4 separate regions of the Homo sapiens genome follow, and regions 2, 3 and 4 are each linked to region 1. The links are contacts of gene promoters, found by promoter capture Hi-C in blood cells and fetal thymus (Javierre and others, 2016). All regions are on one chromosome and are shown on one strand. Each heading gives the region's core, a stretch centred on a gene start or on the middle of the fragment in contact. The rest is flanking DNA. Distances are from core to core; before and after follow the strand shown.

Evidence for each region. The method cuts DNA at HindIII sites, captures the fragments that hold promoters and counts their contacts. A CHiCAGO score of 5 or more calls a contact.
Region 2: a contact is called between a fragment that was not itself captured here and the fragment with the promoter of TEX10 in region 1, in 9 of 17 cell types (fetal thymus, total CD4 T cells, non-activated CD4 T cells and 6 more). The highest score is 12.3, in fetal thymus.
Region 3: a fragment that was not itself captured here is called in contact with the fragment with the promoter of TEX10 in region 1 in 1 of 17 cell types (fetal thymus); the score reaches 6.7 in fetal thymus.
Region 4: a contact is called between the fragment with the promoter of MRPL50 here and the fragment with the promoter of TEX10 in region 1, in 2 of 17 cell types (monocytes and fetal thymus). The highest score is 8.2, in monocytes.

Annotation. Positions count from the first base shown.
Region 1 is chr9:100,351,360-100,354,418 of GRCh38, reverse strand. TEX10 (testis expressed 10) reads left to right here and starts at 1,477. Exons shown (of 15, transcript NM_017746.4): 1 at 1,477-1,647. LOC105376177 (a long non-coding RNA gene) reads right to left here and starts at 1,369. Exons shown (of 4, transcript NR_188642.1): 1 at 838-1,369; 2 at 324-422. RefSeq lists enhancers at 1,150-1,784, 2,189-2,238 and a silencer at 1,299-1,848. The HindIII fragment of the contact is 13,255 bases long and covers 1-3,059 here.
Region 2 is chr9:99,218,641-99,221,699 of GRCh38, reverse strand. ALG2 (ALG2 alpha-1,3/1,6-mannosyltransferase) reads left to right here. Exons shown (of 2, transcript NM_033087.4): 1 at 1-153; 2 at 2,864-3,059. Among named protein-coding and RNA genes, the nearest start is that of ALG2, 1.8 kb to the left of the region's middle. RefSeq lists a cis regulatory region at 2,753 and an enhancer at 2,669-2,838. The HindIII fragment of the contact is 1,077 bases long and covers 712-1,788 here.
Region 3 is chr9:99,262,317-99,265,375 of GRCh38, reverse strand. No RefSeq gene overlaps it. Among named protein-coding and RNA genes, the nearest start is that of SEC61B, 42 kb to the right of the region's middle. RefSeq lists an enhancer at 1,921-2,060. The HindIII fragment of the contact is 8,980 bases long and covers 1-3,059 here.
Region 4 is chr9:101,397,182-101,400,240 of GRCh38, reverse strand. MRPL50 (mitochondrial ribosomal protein L50) reads left to right here and starts at 1,623. Exons shown (of 2, transcript NM_019051.3): 1 at 1,623-1,740. The coding sequence starts at 1,649. ZNF189 (zinc finger protein 189) reads right to left here and starts at 1,390. Exons shown (of 3, transcript NM_003452.4): 1 at 1,052-1,390; 2 at 231-357. The coding sequence starts at 1,084. RefSeq lists enhancers at 1,390-1,919, 1,452-1,980, 1,981-2,510. The HindIII fragment of the contact is 1,128 bases long and covers 621-1,748 here.

The DNA of each region.
Region 1 (3,059 bases), core at 228-2,727:
AGCCATTAAAGGGTTTTGAGCCAAAGAGTGATCTGATCTAACCTAGATCTTAAAATAATCACACAGCTGCTCTGCTGATACCAGACTGTAGGGGGAAGAAGGACAATAAGGGAAGCAGGAAGATGTGTTTGCAGGCTTTTTGCAGTGATCAAGAAGCGGCTTGGACCAGAATGGTAGCAGGGGAGGTGTGTTAACTGGTGAAAGTTAGGATGTCTTTAAAGGTAGAGTCAATCTCCAGATGGATTAGATGTGAGGTGTGGAACAAAGAGGCCAAACCAAAAACCCAAAGGTTTCTGCTTGAGTAACTGCAAGGACAGACTTACTATTTGAGATGAATAAGCTGTAGGAAGAGTAGATTTCAAGGGGAAAATCATCAGTAGCTCTGTTTTGGACAAGTTGACCTTGAGATGTATACTGGATATCTGAAGGAAACATTGAAAAAACTGTTGGATACAAGTTTGGAGTTCCAGGGACTTGTCTGGTTGGCAATAAATCTTTCCTCTTCTGATCTAGTCTCATAGCTTTAAACAGAATATAATGCCACATAATGCCAATGACTCCCAAATATTTATGGTTATGGTCGATTCCAGGCAGATTGTGGTGATGTGGCCATATTGCCAGCAAAGGGAGGTCAGGGTTTCTAGCGCTGCCTCTTTATCTCCGATTATGGAACAGGCATGGTTTTAGTTCCAGTGCTTGGGTCTCCCTGGATTTAGACATCATTCCTTTGAATTCCCACCCAATATAATGAGGGTCAATATCTTCGCTAGCTTTACTAAGTCTTAATTATCTGGTGAGGTGTAGACACAAATTTGAATCAAGGTCTGAAGTCCTTACCTGGGGCTCTTTCTTCCATGCCATCATGCCAGTCTTTGTGAAGACATTTTTCAAAGGCTCATTCTTCTTACCTCTTTTCTAGGAATTTTAGTTTATTTCTTTACTTAACTTCAGAAATTAATTTCTCACTTCATTTTAGTAGCAGGAATGTTAGTGCTGAGAAACTGAGATGTTAGGGAGAATCCTTGACCAAGACTTCCAGGCTCTAGATACTAGGTGTGTCTTGCTCTAATTAAGGAAATCTTATCTGCTCCATCTTAGCCCAGTTTAACGTCCCCAGGAATTCCATCTTCTGCAGTCCTAAACTTTTCCCTTTTTCAATTCAGTGCAACTTATACTCTTCTCTGAAAGTGGCTCCAGGTCTGAAGAACTGTGGTCTGGGAGGAATAGAAAAGCATGCTCAGCTATAACCAGGCCCACATCCCCTAAGTTGCCTGCCCACCAAGTTACGGGCCGGACTTATGCGCCACGCTTTGTCCGGGGACCTCGCGCTGTCCTCCCTCCGGTTCCCACAGAGCAGGGGGCTTCCGGCGGGGTACCCTCCTCTGTGGGCGGGGCCTACCGCTCCCGCTCCCGCCTCCCCGGTTGCGCGCGGCTGCGGGCTGCGATCACGTGAGCACAGCAGGGAGGGGGAGGGGCCCTGATTTCCGGGCGGCGGAAGGAGACGCGGCCGCGTGAGGACGAGGCTATTTGAAAACACGCTCCGGGAGCTAGAGCCTGAGGTCGGCGGCGCACGCTGTTGCCCCGTGGGCTTCTGCTCCCTCGCTTGTCTTCTCGGGCTTCTCGCCCCGGCCGCGGCCGGGTCCTCAGGTAAGCGGCCGTCGCCCGTCGGGCCGGGTCCTCCCGGGGCGCGGGACTGAGCGTGGTGGGGCCGTCGCCCCCCGATCCGCGGCCCAAGCGGGCAGGGTCGGCCGTGCACGATTTGCGTCCCCCGGGTCTGGGCCGCGGCGTCCCTCCGAGCTGGGCCTGGGTGTGCGGCCGGCACTGCGGGGGCGGGACCCCCTAGGGCGTTTGCGGAGCTTCAGGTGACTGGGCGGGTTCGCCTGGTTTCGGGTCCGAGAGAGTTTTAGCCCGGAGTGTGTGAATCGGGCCCCACTTCCCCGACTCTGGTCCTGGCCGGCGTCCCTTGGAGTAGGAGGAACGATGGTTTCCTAAAACCCATGGTGTGTTCGCCTCTGGGATGGATGCAGGACCGAATACGGAGTGGGGATGAGCTGGCGTCCCCTGTTCCGTCCTCTGGTCGCCCAGGCGGGAGAGTTAAGCGAGCGGAAGGGGACTACCAGTTTTCTGGGGTCGCCCCTGCCTGGGCCATTTGCTTTTTGGGAAGTCTGTCGCCTCTGGTTGGCCCCTCAGTGGAGTTTGGAGGAACTCATGAGTTTAAGGGTTTGGGGAGGAAATTATCAAAGGCCGAGTGCAGTACGATCGTTCTCTCTGATTTTTTTTGGAAAAGAAGGTGGAAATGAGGAAGGGTAAGAAGGTGGCAGGCAAACTATTTATAGTTGGAATTTAGTTCGATTGAAATCCTAAAAACGCTAGGATCTGCCTTTTGTTGGAATTAGAAAAGACCTACAGTAGGAATGTGTGACATTCAGCTTTGAAACTATTGGGGATCGCAAACCTAAGGACTAGTGATGTGAGCTCCTCCTCTGAGACTGGCGTTCCTACCTTTTGCTAAAAACCGGCTACTGTAAAAGTGGCTTAGTGGGACTTTTTGATTTGCTGTGTTATGAAAATCTTTGTTATAAGTTAAAGTCAATTACTAGTAGAACTTTGAGAGTTCTTCGCATGAAAATGCTTTGTATCCCGTAATAATATTACTAGGTTTGAAAAGTCAAGGAAGGTCAATCAGCCTTCTTAATTTTCCTAACAGAGAAAGCATTAATGTGACTAATACAAAGCGATAGATAATATGGCATGAAGTTGACAGTAGACTGTTGAAGATCTATCAGGTGGTTAATGGCTAAATAGAACCCACAGGAGTGGAGGAGGAAGGGAGTTAATTTTTCTGAATGTCCTGTACCATTTACTTTCGTGTCTAGTACCAGCTAGTAATAAAATTGTAGGAAAAGCTCACAAAGTGTGCTTGCTTAATTAATGAAAACCATTTTTGTATTAAAAGAGGCCAGGTGAGTATCATGGCCTTCTTTTTAGGCCTTATTCCCTCCCACCCACCCACCCACCGACCCCCAGCTTTTTTTTTTGTTTTGTTTTGTTTTTTAAGA
Region 2 (3,059 bases), core at 1-2,500, 1.1 Mb after region 1:
CTACCGGTGCGCTGTGCCGGGGACTGGCTGCCGCGAGGCCTGGGCTGGGGCGGCCGCGGCGCCGCCGTCTGCGCCTACGTGCGCATGGTTTTCCTGGCGCTCTACGTGCTGTTCCTCGCCGACGAGGAGTTCGACGTGGTAGTGTGCGACCAGGTGAGGCGGCCGCGGGGCCGGCTGCGCGAGTGCGGACCTCGCCGTGGAGGGCGGCCGCGGGCATGACCCCTGAGAGAAGACCTTCCCTGTCTGCGGTTCGCAAAGATCGGAACTGACATGGAGAAGTCAGGGTTGTGAGCGAGCCTGTGGTTCTCTAACTTTAGTGTGGGCCCATTTAAAGTTGCAGATTGCTGGGGTTCCATCCTCCAGGAAGTTTTCATCCAGGTGCCCTGAGGTGGGGCCCAGACATCTGCATTTTAACTGGGTCATAGGGTGATTCCGAGGTAGATAGTCTTTGGGGCTCTGAGAAACGCTGGTATTAGAAGTCAGCTTCAGTCACCTTTTACTAATGAGTAACTCGCGTGTTGTCTTCCCGCTTACCTGTTATTTTTGTTGACTCTCCTTTCAGGCCATTTGCATCCCACTGTCCTTGTGTTCGGAGCCAGGCCACACCGTCCTCAGCAGTGTCATGTGTTAAAAACGCCAAGCTGAATATATCATGCCCCTATTAAAACTTGTACATGGCTCCCCATTGGTTTTTGGAGAAAAGTTCAAGCTTTTTACCTTGGTAAATAATGTCCACCTGGATCTGCCCTGTAGCTATTCTTGACTCTTTCCTTCGTGCATTTTTCCCCATCCTAAAAAAGATGACTTTAAAAAGTAACATTTACTCGATTAAAAATTTAGTAGTATAGAAGGATGTAACCTAAAAGCCCCGTCCTATTCTACTCCCTGAAGATAGCCACCGTTAAGTTTCTCTTGTATTTTTTCAGAAGTTGTGGTGACACCAGCCTGTGTCTTTTCATAGGTATATCTATATCTTCTTATTGGTACATAATTGGTATTATGACATACCTACTATTAGGCATCTTTTTCAGCAAAAATTTATTTATTTATTTATTTATTTTGAAACGGAGTCTTGCTCTGTCTCCCAGGCTGGAGTGCAGTGGCGCGATCTCGGCTCACTGCAACCTCCGCCTCCAGAGTAGCTGGGAGTACAGGTGCGCGCCCCACGCCCGGCTAATTTTTTCTATTTTTAGTAGAGATGGGGTTTCACCATGTTGGCCAGGCTGGTCTCGAACTCCTGACCTCGCGATCCGCCCACCTCGGCCTCCCAAAGTGCTGGGATTACAGGCATGAGCCACTGCGCCCAGCCGGGACATTCTTATGTATCAATATTAGAGATTCACTTCATTCTTCATAGTGGCCAGAAAATCCACTTTTGTTTAAGTGTGTCATAATTAAACATTCTCCTTAAAGGACACTAATGTTGTGACTAGTTTTTTGTGAATAGATCAGTGTTGTAATGAACATCCTTTTACTTCTTTTTTTTAAAATATTTTTGTACTTCTGCAAATATGTCGTTTGAGGAAATTCCTAAAGTTGGTGGGTCTAAGAGTTGTTCATTTTAAATATCAATAGCTACTGCCAAGTTTGCCTACCAAGGAGGCTGTGTCACTTTACTCCCCCACAATGTATGATAGAGCCTCTTACTCCATGCTTTTGTCCGCCTTGGATATTAACCATTTTAAACTTTGCCAAACTGATAGGTGCAGATGGCATCACATTTGTATTTGTGTTTCTTTAATTATGACTCCTGAGTTACTTTTGATCATCCTTGCTTGCATGGAAGCTTTCTTTTTAAGTAACGTGGACATTTACCAAACATCCTGCATGTGTCAGTAGACATGAGGCAGCTGAGACTATAGTGGGTAGAGGAAAAATTATTGGCTTGGAAATAGGCATCTTGGATTCAAGTTCCGTATCTACTGCTTTAATTAAGTGGCTTTGAATAAATTGCACATTATCCCTAAAGTTACCTTCTTCAGGTTTTAAGTTAGCTGAGACTAAAATGACTTGTAAAGATTACCCAACAAGAAAGTCTGTAGTAATGCCAGCATGTAGTTCATGCTCAATGATGACTAGCTTTAATATTTATTGAGCACATACTGTGTGCTAAACTCCATGTGTTTTGCATATATCAGTGCATTTAATAATCACAAAAAGTATATGGGTTTTTTGAACTATAATTTGTCACCATGTTACAGAAGAGGAAACTAAGGCCCAGAGTGGGATAAATTACTTGATCGTGGCCAGTTAGTAGAGCTGAGATTCAAACCCTGGCAGTCTTGAATCTAGAGCTTGTGCTCTAAACTACTATAGTTCATTCATTCAGTTCCTTAGAAGGAGAAAGATCCTAGAGCGGCACTGTTCAGTATGGTAGCCACTAGCCACATGTGGCTGTTGAGCACTTGAAATGTGGCTAGTCTAAACTGAGATGTGCTAAAGTTAAAATACAAACCGATTTTGAAGATGTAATGTGAAATATATGTATATATAAAGTATCTCATTAATACTGTTTAGTATTGGTTACATTTTGAAATGATAATGTTTTCGGTAAATAATATGTTAAAATTAATTTCACCCTTAAAAACATTTTTAATATTACTAGATTTCTATTAGACAGCACTATACAAGAGGAAATCACTGGACTTGAAGCTTTAAATGTTTAGCACACATCTAGCAAACGTCTGTAGCCTTCTGTACACCAGGCATATGGTACTGGGTGAGAGTCTTGGGGAATAAAACAGAATCAGACATTGCCCATGAGGAGCCCACAGACTAGCCAGACGGGGTGGGTGTCTGTGTTTTTGGTTTGGTTGAAGTTGAGTTGACCACTTTATCCGCTGTTGATTTTTGCTTTGGCTAGGTGTCTGCCTGTATCCCAGTGTTCAGGCTGGCTAGACGGCGGAAGAAGATCCTATTTTACTGTCACTTCCCAGATCTGCTTCTCACCAAGAGAGATTCTTTTCTTAAACGACTATACAGGGCCCCAATTGACTGGATAGAGGAATACACCACAGGCATGGCAGACTGCATCTTAGTCAACAGCCAGTTCACAGCTG
Region 3 (3,059 bases), core at 182-2,681, 1.1 Mb after region 1:
TCTAATTGAGCTCTAAACATCTCATTGAGCTCATATTCTAGGGGAATATGATTTGTTAGGTCATCCAGGAAGACGGCTGTCTGTTTATAAATTTCAGTCATAAGCAATGCTCGAAGAAGTCAGGATCCATAACACATAACCTTGTATTTCAGAGTAATTTGTTAGATTTTAGCTGGAAGCATGAGGAAGAGTCTGAGATGCTCGTGTCAGGCTAGAGACCAGGGAAATGGGCTAAAGGAAGAGAAGGCAGCTCAGCTTACCCTCAAATGCTGCCCAGAAAATGTGCTTTCATTCTGAGAAGACGTGCACGGCTGTCACAACCCTGAGAGCCATTAGAGCGTAGAGGTACCTACTGTCTTAAAATAATTCAATAACAAAGCACACAAAATGCTCACTATTCAAACATTTATACAGGGTCTGCTATGTGCAAAGCACTTGGAATATAAAAGTAAATCTAGAGCCGGGCACGGTGGCTCATGCCTGTAATCCCAGCACTTTGGGAGGCTGAGGCGGGCGGATCACCTGAGGTCAGGAGTTCCAGACCAGCCTGGCCAACATGGTGAAACCCTGTCTCTACTAAAAATACAAAAAATTAGCCGGGTGTGGTTGCAGGCGCCTGTAATCCCAGCTACTCTGGAGGCTGAGGCAGGAGAATCGCTTGAACCCAGGAGGCAGAGGTTGCAGTGAGCCGAGATCGTGCCACTGCACTCTGGCCTGGGCAACAAGAGTGAAACTCCATCTCAAAAACAAAAAGTAAATCTAAAAAGCAGATAGAGCTAAGAAGGTTATAGTCTAGAAGAGGCAATAAGACCTGAGTAGAAAATAACTGCAATCCAAGGTAGAAAATGCCTAGTGTTGTGAAAGAGGCACATGGGATTGTATGGCTTTCACAAGAGGAAGCACTGGAGGAAGGTTTTGCAGAGAAAATGACATCTAAGCTGGGCCTTTAGTAACACAAAAGACTTGCACCCCAAATGATGGAAGGGAATAACATCTCAGGGGAAAAAGTAGTGTGGGCAAAACTGCAGAGTTCCAAAAGCATGGGCTGAAGAATTGGAAGTACAAGTAGGTGGCGCCCCCTGTGACTGGAGCACAGGGAGTGTGGAGGGGGTGGGGCAGGATGTAAGATCAGAGAAGTAATTAATCATCCAGTAGTTGCACTCCTAGGTATATTACCAAGAGAATTGAAAACATACCTCCACATAAAAGACCGATACACCAATGCTTATAGCAGTTTCACTCATAATAGCCAAAATGTAGAAACAAACTACTGTCCATCAACTGACAAATGGATAAATGAAATGTGTTATATCTATACAATAAAATATTACTCAGCATTCAGTAATAGGAGGGAGTGAAGTATCAATACATGCTACCATGGATGAACCTTGGAACTGTTCCAAATGAAAGAAGACAGTTACCTAAAATGCATACTGTATGATTCCATTTATATGAAAGGTCCAGAATAGGGAAATCTATAGAGACAGAAAGTATCCTAGGGCCAGCAGGGAGACAACGGGATTAGGTGTTGATGGAAAAGGGTTTCTTTTGGGGATGGTGAAGGTGTTGATGGAAAAAGGTGTTGATGTTAAAGGGTTTCTTTTGGGGATGATGAAAATGTTCTATAATTGAGCATGGTGATGGTTGTACAATTCTGTGAATATACTAAAAACCATTTAATTGTACATTTTAAATAGGTGAATTGTATGGTATGTGAATTATATCACAATAAAGATATAACCCCAAAAATGGTCCTTCCCCAGAGGCAGCAATGAGAAGCACTGGAATAGACCACAGAGAACACTTAGTCTCACTCCCACGGTGCAGAAGGAAACATTAAGACCCAGAGAGGGGAAAGATTTCTCCAGGGTCTCACCACAGGTCAACAGCAGAGCTGCAACTAGAACACAAGACTCCGCCTGTGCCCTCAGTGTCCTTCCCACTGCACGGGACTATTCCCAACATTCTTCCACTCCTAGGACCACACCCTTCAAGCAGAATTCATGATCATGGCTGTCAGAGTCTACCTAGAGAAAGGGAAGTAGAAGCAGAATATTTGTGGTTCAGTCTCAGGATTGGAAGAAAGGTCATAACTGAGGCTTATATCCCCTTTTTAATATTTCCATCACACGGTCATCTAGCAAACCTTGAACAATCTTGATGATGGGAAACTTGGTACCTCCAAAACGTCTCTGAACAACTTTGTGGTGCACAGAACTGCATCTCCCTCCAGCTTCCTCCTGATGACGGGAGAGCGAAGGGCCACACTGTAGTCAGACTGTTGTGAGAGGCTTTACAATGAACCGCAGCTGCATTTGCATTGCTTTTTCTCACTTGATTAAGTGCTTCTAAGGCAGAGGCTGTGTTTTTGTGTTTTGTTTTGTTTTGAGATGGAGTCTCGCTCTGTCGCCCAGCCTGGAGTGCAGTGGTGCAATCTCGGCTCACTGCAACCTCCGCCTCCCAGGTTCAAGCAATTCTTCTGCCTCAGCCTCCCGAGTAGCTGGGACTACAGGCATGTGGCACCATGCCCAGCTAATTTTTGTATTTTTACTAGAGATGGGGTTTCACCATATTGGCCAGGCTGATCTCGAACTCCTAACCTCATGATCCACCCGCCTCAGCCTCCCAAAGTGCTGGGATTACAGGTGTGAGCCACCACGCCCGAACTTTTCTTTTTTTTGAGATGGAGTCTCGCTCTGTCACCCAGACTGGAGTACAGTGGCGTGATGATTTTGGCTCACTGCAACCTCCACCTCCCGGGTTCAAGCGATTCTCTTGCCTCAGCCTCCCAAGTAGCTGGGATTACAGGCATGCACCAATACGCCCAGCTAATTTTTGTATTTTTAGTGGAGACGAGATTTCACCATGTTGGCCAGACTGGTCTTGAACTCCCGACCTCAGGTGATCCACCTGCCTTGGCCTCTCAAAGTGCTGGGATTATAGGTGTGAGCCACTGTGCCCGGCCTGTGTTTGATTTTATATCTCTATCTCCTGAAATATGGCCAGACTCAGAGAAGGAAGTTCTAAACATTTGCTGAAGGAATTAGAATTAGTGAACC
Region 4 (3,059 bases), core at 374-2,873, 1.0 Mb before region 1:
AGAACAATATGGGAATGAGATTATGAAGACAGGATGCCCGAAAGGCTTGCAGTTTGGTCACCTCAAGGAAGCTAGGGATGAGAGTTATGGAAACAATTAATGGCTAAAAGGTTTGAATCAGAACTTTGGAACAAAGCAGTTTTGGTACTGGTTTCCGTCCAAATGTTCTGTTAGTCTGATTTCTCTCTACCTTCTTAGATATTTTAATTAGAGAAACAGCAGATTCTTACCCAGTGAGACCAGGTTTCCATAATTCTCCATCATGACATCTTTATACAGGCTTCTCTGAGCTGGGTCCAGATAATCCCACTCCTCCTGGGTAAAAAACACAGCCACATCCTCAAATGTCAGCAACCCCTGAAATAGTATGATTTCTGTAGTCAGTTCCTGTTGTCTCAAGGACAATTCTACCACTAAAAGTGACAGAGGCAATCACTTATTGTGGCCAAGTAGGCTAGGAGGAACATGATAACTGAAAGTTCCATATGTTGCCCAATTCTGGGAACGAACTGTAACTGACAGACATCTCAGACTAGAAAGGACCTACGGATAAGGCTTTTCTGATTTATTATGCCCTGAGAGTTTAATTTTAGTAAACTGCCCCAAGGCCTCTCCAAGCTTCCCTCACCTCATTGCCTACTTCAATTTTCCATTTGCACTGGCTTGTGACTCTATTCAATTCAATTCCTTGAGGTTCTCTAAGCGTGTACCTTGGGGTCCAGGCACTGTGCCAGGAACAGAAGACACAAGGGAAGGTCAAAAATGGTGCTTCACCTGGAGAACTCACAAATGAGAGAGCTAGTCTGGAGCATTACTTATTTTCTCAGGCCGATTTATCAAGTCTCTCTAGAAAAAGAAAAAAAAAAAGGGAGCCAGTGGGCAGTTTGTTCGCGAACCGCACCCCAATGCACTAGTGGGGAGTTCCTTGCAAGGCGCTGGCCCTAAAGAGGCGGTCAGGAGGTTGGTGGGGGGCCTGGGGGAGAAAGCAGTGGTGCGGCCTAGCTGGGGTAGCGGCGAGACAACCGGGATCCCCGGGGGGGTGCTTACTTACCTTCGACTCCGGCGGGGGGCTCGGGGAAGCCATCTCCCAGGCAGAGAATAGGGGCAGGAATTGGGGGCGGCCTCACGGAAAGGAGCCTCTGGTGAGGCCTACCCGGCTGCTGGAAATTAGGCTCGACGAATACGAGGATCCCTGGCTGGGTCTGGCCAGTGCCTGCCTCGGCCCCCAGACGGTCACGACCCCAACAGCATATCAGACGCGATCCCTGGCTGTCCCCCAACCCCGAACCCCAACCCCTACTCCTGCCTGGTTACGCAGCCTTTCAGGCCTCGCTAGAGCCTCCTCCCCGCTGCCAGTTCCTCCTCCTTGCAGCCAAGTAACGCTATGACCGCCCGCCCCCGGACCAGAAGGCGTCACCCAGATTCTTCCCGAGGCCCCCTCAACTACAACTCCCGTCATGCTCGGAAAGAGCGCCGCGGTCCAGACGCCGCCAGCAACAGCTACTGGACTACATTTCCCAGCGTGCAAAGGGCGAGGGAGCCTACAGGAAAAAGAAAGCTCTTGCCACTGGGATTGTATCCGATTGGCTGGTCTGGGCGCGTCACTGCTGGCTGAAGGCTGCGCTCAGGCCCGTGGATCTCATCGAAGATGGCGGCGCGATCTGTGTCGGGCATTACCAGAAGAGTCTTCATGTGGACAGTCTCAGGGACACCATGTAGAGAATTTTGGTCTCGATTCAGGTAAAGCTTTATGGTGGACGGTGGGTCATGTTCAAGGAAAGTTAAGGAGGATTAGGGACGAATTCAAAATAGAGTGTTACGCCATCGTGGTCCCGCGCCTGATCAGAGCAAGGACAAGGAGGTCCGGTTAGGGTCCCGAGTTGAGAAGCACTCATTGAGTGGTGGGACCCAGTCTCTTCCACTCTCGGCCTTAGTTTTCTCATTTTATAACGGAAATACCACCCCCTTTCCTTTTCACTTCACTCATTCATTTATTTATTAAGCAAGCAGGATTAACCTCGTGTGCGAGACACCGAGTGTGTTGTCTGCAAACACATGAAAGCGCTTGGTAAACTAAACTCATTTGCCGGCTGTGTTTCTTCACAAGCAAGGTTCAGTAATGAAGTACTGCCTCCTCCTTTTGTTTGTTCATTCATTCAGTCATTCAACAGATTTCTTAGGGCCAGCATTACTCTAAGCGCCTAGGATACAGCAGGAAAAACAAAATCCATTCTCATCCTCGAGGTACTCCAACATATGAGGAAACAGGCCCACAGGAGGGAAGTGATTTTCCCAAAGTCACAAAGCAAGTTAATTGCAAAGCTGGATCTAGAACATATGTCTCCTAACTCCCCATCTACTGCTTTTTCTGCTGCACGGCTGCACCATGTGTAATTGTTTGAAGGTAAATCTAATTTGACTTAGATAGTGTTTAGGAAATCAAAACGTATGGTAGGAACCCTAGGGAGCAATGTATGCTCTCTTAGGTTTAAAACAAAAACCACTACAATTAGGAAAGATCTTTTTCATCAGTTCAGATATTAGCTTTCCCTCTTCTTTGGTCAATATTTGTTATTATCTCTCAAATCTCTTCCAAGTTTGTTTTATTCATTCACTCAACAAATATTTTTTAGGCTGTTTACTATATGCCAGGCTATATCTTAGGTGTTGTAAGAATACAGTGGTTACTAAAACAGACCAAATTTTTGTTCTCGTAGGGCATATGTTCTAATGGAGGAAGAAATGAACAAATGTGTAATGTAATTTCAGAAAGTGGTAAATTATGAAGAAAACTAGAGGAAATAGATTACTGAGAATGATGATTATATTTTCTTTACTATTTTAAAAATTTTATATATTTAAGATATACAACTTGATGTTGATTATTAGTCAAGATAATTATCATATTCATCTCTTCACATACTTTCTGTTTTGTTTTGTTTTAGAGAAAGGAGTTCTCACTATGTTGCACAGGCTGGTCTTGAACTCCTGGACTCAAGTAATTTTCCCACCTTGGCCTCCCAAATTGCTGGGATTCCAGGGGTGAGCCACCACACCTG